3 separate regions of the Homo sapiens genome follow, and regions 1 and 3 are each linked to region 2. The links are contacts of gene promoters, found by promoter capture Hi-C in human tissues and cell types (Jung and others, 2019). All regions are on one chromosome and are shown on one strand. The core of a region is centred on a gene start or on the middle of the fragment in contact, and the rest is flanking DNA. Distances in the headings are between cores, read along the strand shown. Region 1 overlaps PKP2 (plakophilin 2). Region 2 holds the start of ALG10 (ALG10 alpha-1,2-glucosyltransferase). Region 3 has its middle 45 kb from the start of PKP2.

The links. The method cuts DNA at HindIII sites, captures the fragments that hold promoters and counts their contacts. A contact is called where the count stands out against the background at its distance.
Region 1: a contact is called between a fragment that was not itself captured here and the fragment with the promoter of ALG10 in region 2, in 1 of the 25 tissues and cell types used here (dorsolateral prefrontal cortex).
Region 3: a fragment that was not itself captured here is called in contact with the fragment with the promoter of ALG10 in region 2 in 1 of the 25 tissues and cell types used here (dorsolateral prefrontal cortex).

Annotation. Positions count from the first base shown.
Region 1 is chr12:32,819,968-32,823,011 of GRCh38, forward strand. It overlaps PKP2 (plakophilin 2), which reads right to left. Exons shown (of 13, transcript NM_001005242.3): 8 at 2,500-2,664; 9 at 1,389-1,562. Among named protein-coding and RNA genes, the nearest start is that of YARS2, 66 kb to the left of the region's middle. The HindIII fragment of the contact is 5,860 bases long and covers 1-3,044 here.
Region 2 is chr12:34,020,900-34,023,847 of GRCh38, forward strand. It overlaps ALG10 (ALG10 alpha-1,2-glucosyltransferase), which reads left to right and starts at 1,597. Exons shown (of 3, transcript NM_032834.4): 1 at 1,597-1,871. The coding sequence starts at 1,701. RefSeq lists silencers at 1,354-1,503, 1,417-1,603. The HindIII fragment of the contact is 12,723 bases long and covers 1-2,948 here.
Region 3 is chr12:32,940,650-32,943,510 of GRCh38, forward strand. No RefSeq gene overlaps it. Among named protein-coding and RNA genes, the nearest start is that of PKP2, 45 kb to the left of the region's middle. The HindIII fragment of the contact is 6,625 bases long and covers 1-2,861 here.

The DNA of each region.
Region 1 (3,044 bases), core at 310-2,809, 1.2 Mb before region 2:
TGGTTTTGGGAAACCTAGCATAGGAAAATGGGGAATAACGTGATTCATTAGTGTCCCTGTGTCATTAAGGGCTCCCTGGTAGTTCCCAGTTTCTTTCTCAATGTACATTTTGCAGAAAGCCAAACAGATGAAAGTTTGGTTGCATTCTTAACCACAATGCTAAGGTAAGAGAAATATTGGTTTTAGCATTTCACAATTTTATTCAGAGAACAAGCTTCTGTGTAAACACACATATTAAAGAATAAATATGGTTTCTCAAGTAAAACATAAATATTTTTTGCTACTTACAATAGTACTTTTCTCTACAGAGATAATTGGAGACTAGACAGACAATGAGCTATTTGGGGGGAGTTTATTCTAATCGTTTCATGACCAAGGCAAAGAATACAAGCTTAGTTTAAATCATTAAATACTTACAGAATACCTTAATATATAGGAAGGGTATAAAATACATGGGGAAGGGAATAACCTTTTACTATTTTAATTATTTTGACTTTGCTGCTATAAAGTAAGTGCATCTGGAAAGAGGATCAGCTCTTTATTTTGTAGTTGAATTTCTGGGACACAAAAGCACAGATGGCCTTTCCAACTCCATACTGCAGTAGACATCTGCTGTTGTTTTTGCCTTCCCAGCATTTATTCCTCCTTCCTTTGGTAGTAACAGTCTCATTTTCCATTAGGGAGCACTCCTTTACCATTTCAGCCCATGTGGTACAAGTGGCAGTGGCCCTCATCCAATCAAACCCATGCCCTGGAAGTGCACATCTGGGCATATGATCCAGACTTGGCCAATTAGAACATCATAGCCTCATAGACACAGGTATTGGTTCAGAAATGGGCAAGAGGCCCAAGCCAGCCCGTGAGACATATTCTCCAACTTCTTAACAACACTATTGGGAAAATGGTAGTTTGTTTCTTGTGGGGGACACATTGGGCTGATAAAACGTGAGCCTGAAATAATTCATGGCTGTCTTTGTTACCCTATGGAGAGAGCCTTTGAGAACAAACCCAGCAGAGGAAAACCAAGCCCGGAGATGAAGAAAGTCAACTGTAATCACTGGTGCACCTAAGTCCAGTCACGACAGAAAGAAGGCCCACCCTGGAGTTTTCAGTGCCATAAGCCAAAAATTTCCTCTTTTTTGCTTAAACCAGCTTGAGGCAGGATTCTGAGATCTGTAACTGAAAGAGTACTGACTTGACTTGTCAGTCAAGCAGCCTGACTTGACTTTGCATAAGCTGAGACCGAAGCCCTCTGTAATTTCTGAGAATTGTCTTTACTAAAATAAGAAACCTTTTTCTCTTCCCTCACTGTTTCATCTCTGAATTGAATGTAGGTATGTCTACAATATCATTATTTTAAAAAGTAGGAAATCAGGCCCAATACTCACTGGTCCACTTCCGGCCGTGAGGTTCTGCAGAGCTCCTAAGGATGCTTCTTGTGTGTAGTTGCGGACACTTTTGGCGATCAAGGACAGATACATCCTTATAACAATGGAATGCCACAGCCACTCCACGCCCTTGGGGTTGCTCTTTTCCTCCGGCATCGGCACGTCCTGGTATTGCTGACCACACACAAAAGGAATCCAGAATTAATGCATGTCAGGTGATGGCTATAATTTCACACTCAAACCAGGAGACCAGAAATACTGTCTAGAAAGGCTCATAATTTGCATAAGAAGCCCTTGAAATAGAAATTTTAAAAGCAAATATATATAATTTCTAATCACTTAACTTTTAGCCCATAATGATTATTTCTTCCTAATAACACTCCACACCCCTAACTTGATATTTCTCCCAGTGAGAGAAAATTCAGAGAATTAAGCATAGGTCATTCTAGAATGGTTTTCAGGCTGCTGTTGAGCTAAAAGCTAAATTAGTCACAACCACCCTGTAGATAAGAAAAACAGGCCTGTTCCCTCAGAGTCTTGTGAAAGTGTCCAGGATAGCACCAGGGTTCTAAATTTACCAGCTGGTTTCCACAAATACCACGATACTCAGAGAAGGAGGGGAGGTTACATTCTCTTAGTTTTCATATCAGTATGGAAATAAATATGTATTCCTTCCTATGAGGTTTGCTTTTAGTATGTCCAAAGTTTGTTTTTAGAATACCCAAGGCCAAATATCAGGGCCGACTTTAATAAAAACAATTTATATACAATTAGCTATGCTGCATTAAGCTTATTTCCTAACCTATAAGGCATAAAGCAGTACGGTTCATGGGTAGCAATGAAAATCTGGAGCCAGACTGCCTGGCATTGTATTCAATCTCTTCCACTTATTTGCTGAATTATTCCAGGAAAATTAATCTTACTGTGTCTCTGTTTCCTCACTGGTAAATGAGGGTATTAATAATACACACTTCAAAAGGTTGATGTAAGAATTAAAATAACTTAAAATAGTGCCGATATATACCAAGTACTTAGACATACACATATACACAAACACACACTCTCTCTCATTCTCTCCCTTTCTCATTCTTTCAAAAACTTCCCAATATACCTCTTTTACTTTCCTGCTTCGACTGCCAAAACATCCAATACTTTTGTTGTTGTCAGTCTGGATATTCCGGTTTTGAATATAGATATTCTGGGAATATTTCTCTGGGAGCTCTGCCTCCAGCTGGTAGGAGAGGTTATGAAGAATGCACACACAATTCTCCGTGGCCTGAGAAAACAGGACAAGAATATTGATCGTATACATATAGATATCCTTGCAGGTGTGATATCACAGGACACAGGCTTTAGCTCTTACAAGGTTTACCAGATGCAACTGGGTGTGCTTAAACTGCGGGTTGCCTGGGGGAAATGCAATGAGTATGGCTAGAAAAGCTAAGGTTTTCATGAACAGTCAGGAGTACAATGCTAAGAAGTAGAGGCTGAGTCTTTTTAGTTTACTTTCTAAAGAGTGTGTCCAGAACAACTGTATAGCTTAGATACGTAACTTACTAGCCATGTTGAGCTGGAGAAGGGGAGGAGATACTGTTTATAGGGACCAACTAGGAGGCTATTGCAATAATCGGCATGAAAGATGCACAATGTAGGAAA
Region 2 (2,948 bases), core at 347-2,846:
GTTTAACATAAACTATTGGTGGCAATTGTTATGAAGAAAAATGGAGAGCATAAATGTCTAGTCTTGTTCTACTCCCTTTAAAAACGACCCACTATTTCTAGGGTGGGTCAGTAAGCTGCAGAGTATATATAACACGATTTAGCAGGTCAACAGGTCAGGAGCTAATTACTTGTAGATCACATCAACCTCTTGAAGACTGAATCATCTGGAGATGTGTTACAAGTGACTTAAACAGATAAGTACAGCATGGACTCAACAATAAAATGGGAGATAATGGTTAAAACAAAGCTAAGCATCACATCAGAGTAGGATCCTCACATGACTTTATTCCAGTAATGTAAATGTTCCCATCCCAGCCCTCATTCACCACTACTTCCTCTTATCATTGAGGAAACAGGCAGAGACAGAATGGAAAGGCAGTCAGCTTAATTTAAGAAACTTTCTTAAGTTTAGAAATACTGAATTAGTTTTAACCCAGAAAAAGAGCTCAATTGAGAACTCTGAGGTTTGCAACCTTAAATCCCGCCTAAATTCTGATATATTCCTGCCAAAGGCAACCTGATTGAGGTTACCTGAGAAATAGTTTTTCTACAAAACATGGCCAACCATGCTCAAGACAAAATTACAACACATAATTTATCTTCGGCATTCTTCAAATTATTTACCTCATCTCCTGCCCCCAGCACCTAATCCCAGAATACAGGAATTTGATGATGTCTACACAGCCTATAAAAGTCCACAAATTTAAGTGCCTACTGTGTGAAAGCCATTTTGGGGACTACAAACATAAAGGATGTATAATGCCACCCACTAAGATGTTCACGCTTATGATTTAGTAGGAAAAACAGAAGGCTGCCTTACAGATATTAACAACCAAATTTACAGGCACACCTAAAACATCCCGAATTCTAAAATATATATGTATTTTCCAAATCCTACAGGGTAATATGACTATGAAAGTGCACTAGGAATGTCAATTTAACTAAATCCTCTGAGAGCATCCACATTTTGAAAGAGTTCTCTTTTAACCTAAACAAACAAACGAACAAACACTCCTCTCACTGAAGTTCATTCGGCATTGACGGGTCTCTGGTTCTTCAAGTTTTCATCTAAAACTCTCAGTCTTTGCTATCACAACCAACGCACCCTTCCTACACTCCAAAGTTGATGGAATGAAATGTCTTGGAATTGAGGGTTTAATTAATTCGGATCACTGGAGAGAAATAACAGAAATAACGGGGGAAAAAATGTGTCCATTTTAGGGCTTGGAATTGGAAACGTGGGGAAACGTCGCCACCTTCTGGTAAGTGATGGAAGTGAGCAGGAAAAAAGATCCAAGCTAAGAAGCGGCTTTTTTTTTTTTTTTTTTTTTTTTTTTTTTCTAAGCAGCAAGCCACGCACCTCCCGCGCTGGCGAAATCCGAGACCCGCCCCTTCCGGAAGTTTTGACACTTTGTGCGCCCCGGGCAATGCGATTGAGAGGGTAATCATCCGGTCCGTTATCTAAACCCGTCACTCCGGGAAACAGCGACCCGATCTTTCCGGATCCGCGCTCTCCCAGCATCCTTTGCCTTCCGGTATGTGGCCCCGTCTGGCTAGTCCCGCCTAGCGCGCCCATTTCGAGCCCAAGTTTCCAGCTCGGGTTTCCAGGCTCAGAATTTTCCAGGAGTAGGTTCTTGGGCAGTGGCTGTGGGAGCTGGAATGGCGCAGCTGGAAGGTTACTATTTCTCGGCCGCCTTGAGCTGTACCTTTTTAGTATCCTGCCTCCTCTTCTCCGCCTTCAGCCGGGCGTTGCGAGAGCCCTACATGGACGAGATCTTCCACCTGCCTCAGGCGCAGCGCTACTGTGAGGGCCATTTCTCCCTTTCCCAGGTGGGGTCCCCAACCTGTCCCCACCCCAGGAGAGGCCTGAGAGGTCCCAGCGTCCCCACGTCCTCCCATCCTTAGACTTCACTCGTCCTGTTCCACCCCCTCAAGCCTCAGAACATGAAAGAAACTGGGTATAGTCTTTTGTTCCTGTCTCTGAGATCTGTGAAATATTTATTAAATGAATGAATAAACAGCAGATCTGTCCTCCAGGAAGGAGTGATCTGGGAGAATACTCAACGGGGAACTGAGCCCTCCTCTTGGCAGCTGACGATATCGATCCCACTTTGTCTTTCCTTGTTTTAGGATTAAAGGCATTCGGGTGCTCCTTGGAAATACCAGAAAACTTTCCTTTAGCTCACCTGTCAAGCACCTCACTGTGCATTTTAGGGGTGGGATAGGGTGGACTGGAGGGATCTTCAGCTACCAAAAAGTGACAATTTATAATCACAAATTCCTTCCCTGGGTATTTTTAGTGAACTGTTAACTGGATAAACTGGCAACCAGTCAAGTCACATCATTTTTGAGTATATATTTGACTGTGCAAGTATGTACATATAAATATCAAAATAAGCATCCCCTGCTTCTCTGGTGACACAATATAGGGTACTGGCTAGAAATATAAAGTCTGTTTTAGAGAAAGATCTGATCTTAAATCTTGGTGCTGTGATTTACTAGTTTTGTGATCTTGGAGATGTTCTGAGTTTCAGAAATTCAGGTTACTCATCTGCAAAATGACAATAATCTTTACTATAGGGCATATTGTAACGTTAATACAGAGGGTTTGGCAACAATTTCTGTCTCAGTTTATGTTAGCTGTCATCATGGAGCCTGTGGTCCAAATGTTTTCCTAAACTTAAGAGTCCCAAACAATGTTTCCATGCTTTTAAAAACTGGAACATTTGCAGTTTATTTATCAAAATAAAGGCTTTTAAAGAACATTTCTTGGAAAATAGAAATAGATTTTAAGTTGTTGTTGTTTATTGGTTGCTGCTACCTGAACCATCACTAAGCTGGTCCGGGGGCAAAAAATAAGAAAAACGAATCCTGTTCTGCCAAGGACTTACTTAATCTTGTCATAGA
Region 3 (2,861 bases), core at 135-2,634, 1.1 Mb before region 2:
CTTGGAGATAGAGAGTGAGTTCTCTGGAGACCTGGTTGTTGTAAAGTGTGGCATCTCCCCCTCCACTCTCTCTCTCTCTCTTGCACCTGCTTTCCCAATGTGATGTGCCTGCTCTCCCTCCTGCACCTTCTGCCATGATTGTAAGCTTTCTGTGGCCTCCCTAGAAGCTGAACAGATGCCAGCACCATGCTTCCTGTAAAGCCTGCAGAACCATGAGCCAATTAAACCCCTTTTTAAGATAAATTACCCAGTCTCAGGTATTTCTCTCTTTCTTTCTTTTTTCTTTCTTTTTTATTTTTTGAGACACAGTCTGGCTTTGTTGCCCAGGCTGGAGGGCAGTGGCATGATCTTGGCTCACTGCAACCTCTGCCTCCTGGGCTCAAGTGTTATAAAAGCTTATTTAACAATTTACCTCTGGCTGATATTGTTTGTTTTGTTTGTTTGTTTTTTTAATTTTGAGACAGGGTCTTGCTTTGTTGCCCAGACTGGTCTTGAACTCCTGGGATCAAGTGATCCTCCCTTCTCAGGTGGGATTACAGGCATGCACCACTGTGTCCAACTTGACGTAATTCTTTTTTTTTTTTCTTTCCTGAGACAGGGTTTTGCTCTTGTTGCTCAGGCTGGAGTGCAATGGCATGATCTGGGCTCACTGCAACCTCCGCCTCCCAGGTTCAAGTGATTCTCCTGCCTCAGCCTCCCTAGTAGCTGGGATTACAGGGATGTGCCACCACGCTCGGCTAATTTTGTATTTTTAGTAGAGACAGGGTTTCTCCATGTTGGTCAGGCTGGCCTCAAACTCCCGACCTCAGGTGATCTGCCCGCCTCGGCCTCCCAAAGTGCTGGGATTACAGGCATGAGCCACCGCACCCGGCCCATAATTCTTTTAAATATGTATTTTGCTGGGTGCGGTGGCTCACGCCTGTAATCCCCGCACTTTGGGAGGCTGAGGTGGGAAGATCACGTGAGTCCAGGAGTTTGAGACCAGCCTGGGCAACTTGGTGAAACCCGTCTCTACTAAACATACAAAAATTAGCCAGGCGTGATGGTGCCTGCCTGTGGCCCCAGCTACTCAGGAGGCTGAGGTGGGAAGATTACCTGAGCCCAGGAGGTCGAGGCTGCAGTGGGCTGTGACTGTGCCACTGTACTCCAGCCTGGGTGACGGAGTGAGACCCTGTCTCAAATGAATAAATAAATAAAATTAAAAATAAATAAATAAATAAATGAATAAGTGTTTCAGCATTGGAAATAAATCTGGTGGTAAGCTAAGTGTACATTGATTTCTGCAACTGAGTTCTTACTATGGGTTAGGCAATATTATAGGCAGGATAACATGTGGAGAATAAGACAGACAAGGCCTCTAATTTACAGTCTATATTCTAGGGGTGCTATTGGTAATGAAGTATATAATAGTCAGTGAATATACAGTGTAATCTGTTATGACATTATTCCCAGAATCCCTGTCTAGGAATCATTGAAAAGGAATTACATTTTCTAGACATGGGCATTAGCAGAATGCTGGACTTAACAATATTTTCTCATGTGACAATAGGCAAGTTTCTTCCTCTCTATCTCAAAATTTCTTTTAGAGAATAATCTATTTTCCATTCATCATAATTTTAAAATGGACTATCATTAGGGCCTTTAATTCTTTAATTTGTAGGCTGGCAATGGAGACTGGTTAGGACCTATATTAAATGATAGTCCACAGGCCACATGATGCTTGTTTATCAATTGGTAGATTTTATTTTACCTTTAATAATCACCATCAGGAGGTTTCCTTTTTTTTTTTTTTTTTTGAGATGGAGTCTCGCTCTGTTGCCTAGGCTGGAGTGCAGTAGCACGATATTGGCTGACTGCAACCTCCACCTCCTGGGTTCAAGCGATTCTGCATCAGCCTCACGAATAGCTGGGATTACAGGCGCATGCCACCACGCCCGGCTAATTTTTGTATTTTTAGTAAAGTTGGGGTTTCATCATGTTGACCAGGCTGGTCTCGAACTCCTGACCTCAAGTGATCTGACCTGCCTCCGCTGTTTAAAGTGCTGGGATTACAGGAGTGAGCCACCATGCCGGGCAGGAGGTTTCCTTTTTAAAAAACATTTTAAATGGCTACAGGCATGTGCCGCCATGCTTGTCTAGTTAAAAAAACAAACAAACAAAAAACATTTGGTCCAGCGCAGTGGCTCACGCCTGTAATCCCAGCACTTTGGGGGGCCGAGGTGGGCAGATCACGAGGTCAGGAGATTGAGACCATTCTGGCTAACACGGTGAAACCCCGTCTCTACTAAAAATACAAAAAAGAAAAAAAAAAGTTGGGCATAGTGGCAGGTGCCCGTAGTCCCAGCTACTTGGGAGGCTGAGGCAGGAGAATGGTGTGAACCCAGGAGGTGGATCTTGCAGTGAGCCAAGGTGGCGCCCCTGCACTCCAGCCCAGGCGACAGAGCAAGACTCCATCTCAAAAAAAAAAAAAAAAATTTTTTTTTAGAGATGATGTCTGCTATGTTGCCCAGCCTGCCAGACTGGTCTTGAACTCCTGGGCTCAAGTGACCCTCCTGCCTCAGACTCCAGAAGTGTTGGGATTACAGTCACGAACCACTGTGCCTGGCCAGGAGATTTCTTAAAAGAATATCCATGTCCAGTGGAAAGGGATAGGCAGCTAAGTCTTGAATAGTTAAAGTCTTAGTGTGCATACATTTTTTGATAAAAAATAATTGAATTACTTGTCATCTCATTACATTGAAATGAGGCACACATTCGTAAGTGCCTCATAAAGGAAAACCAGTAATGACAAGACATGAAATGTATTGAGTAATTTACCATACTCCAGGTACTCTGCATTTCAGTTTATTGACTCTTCACAA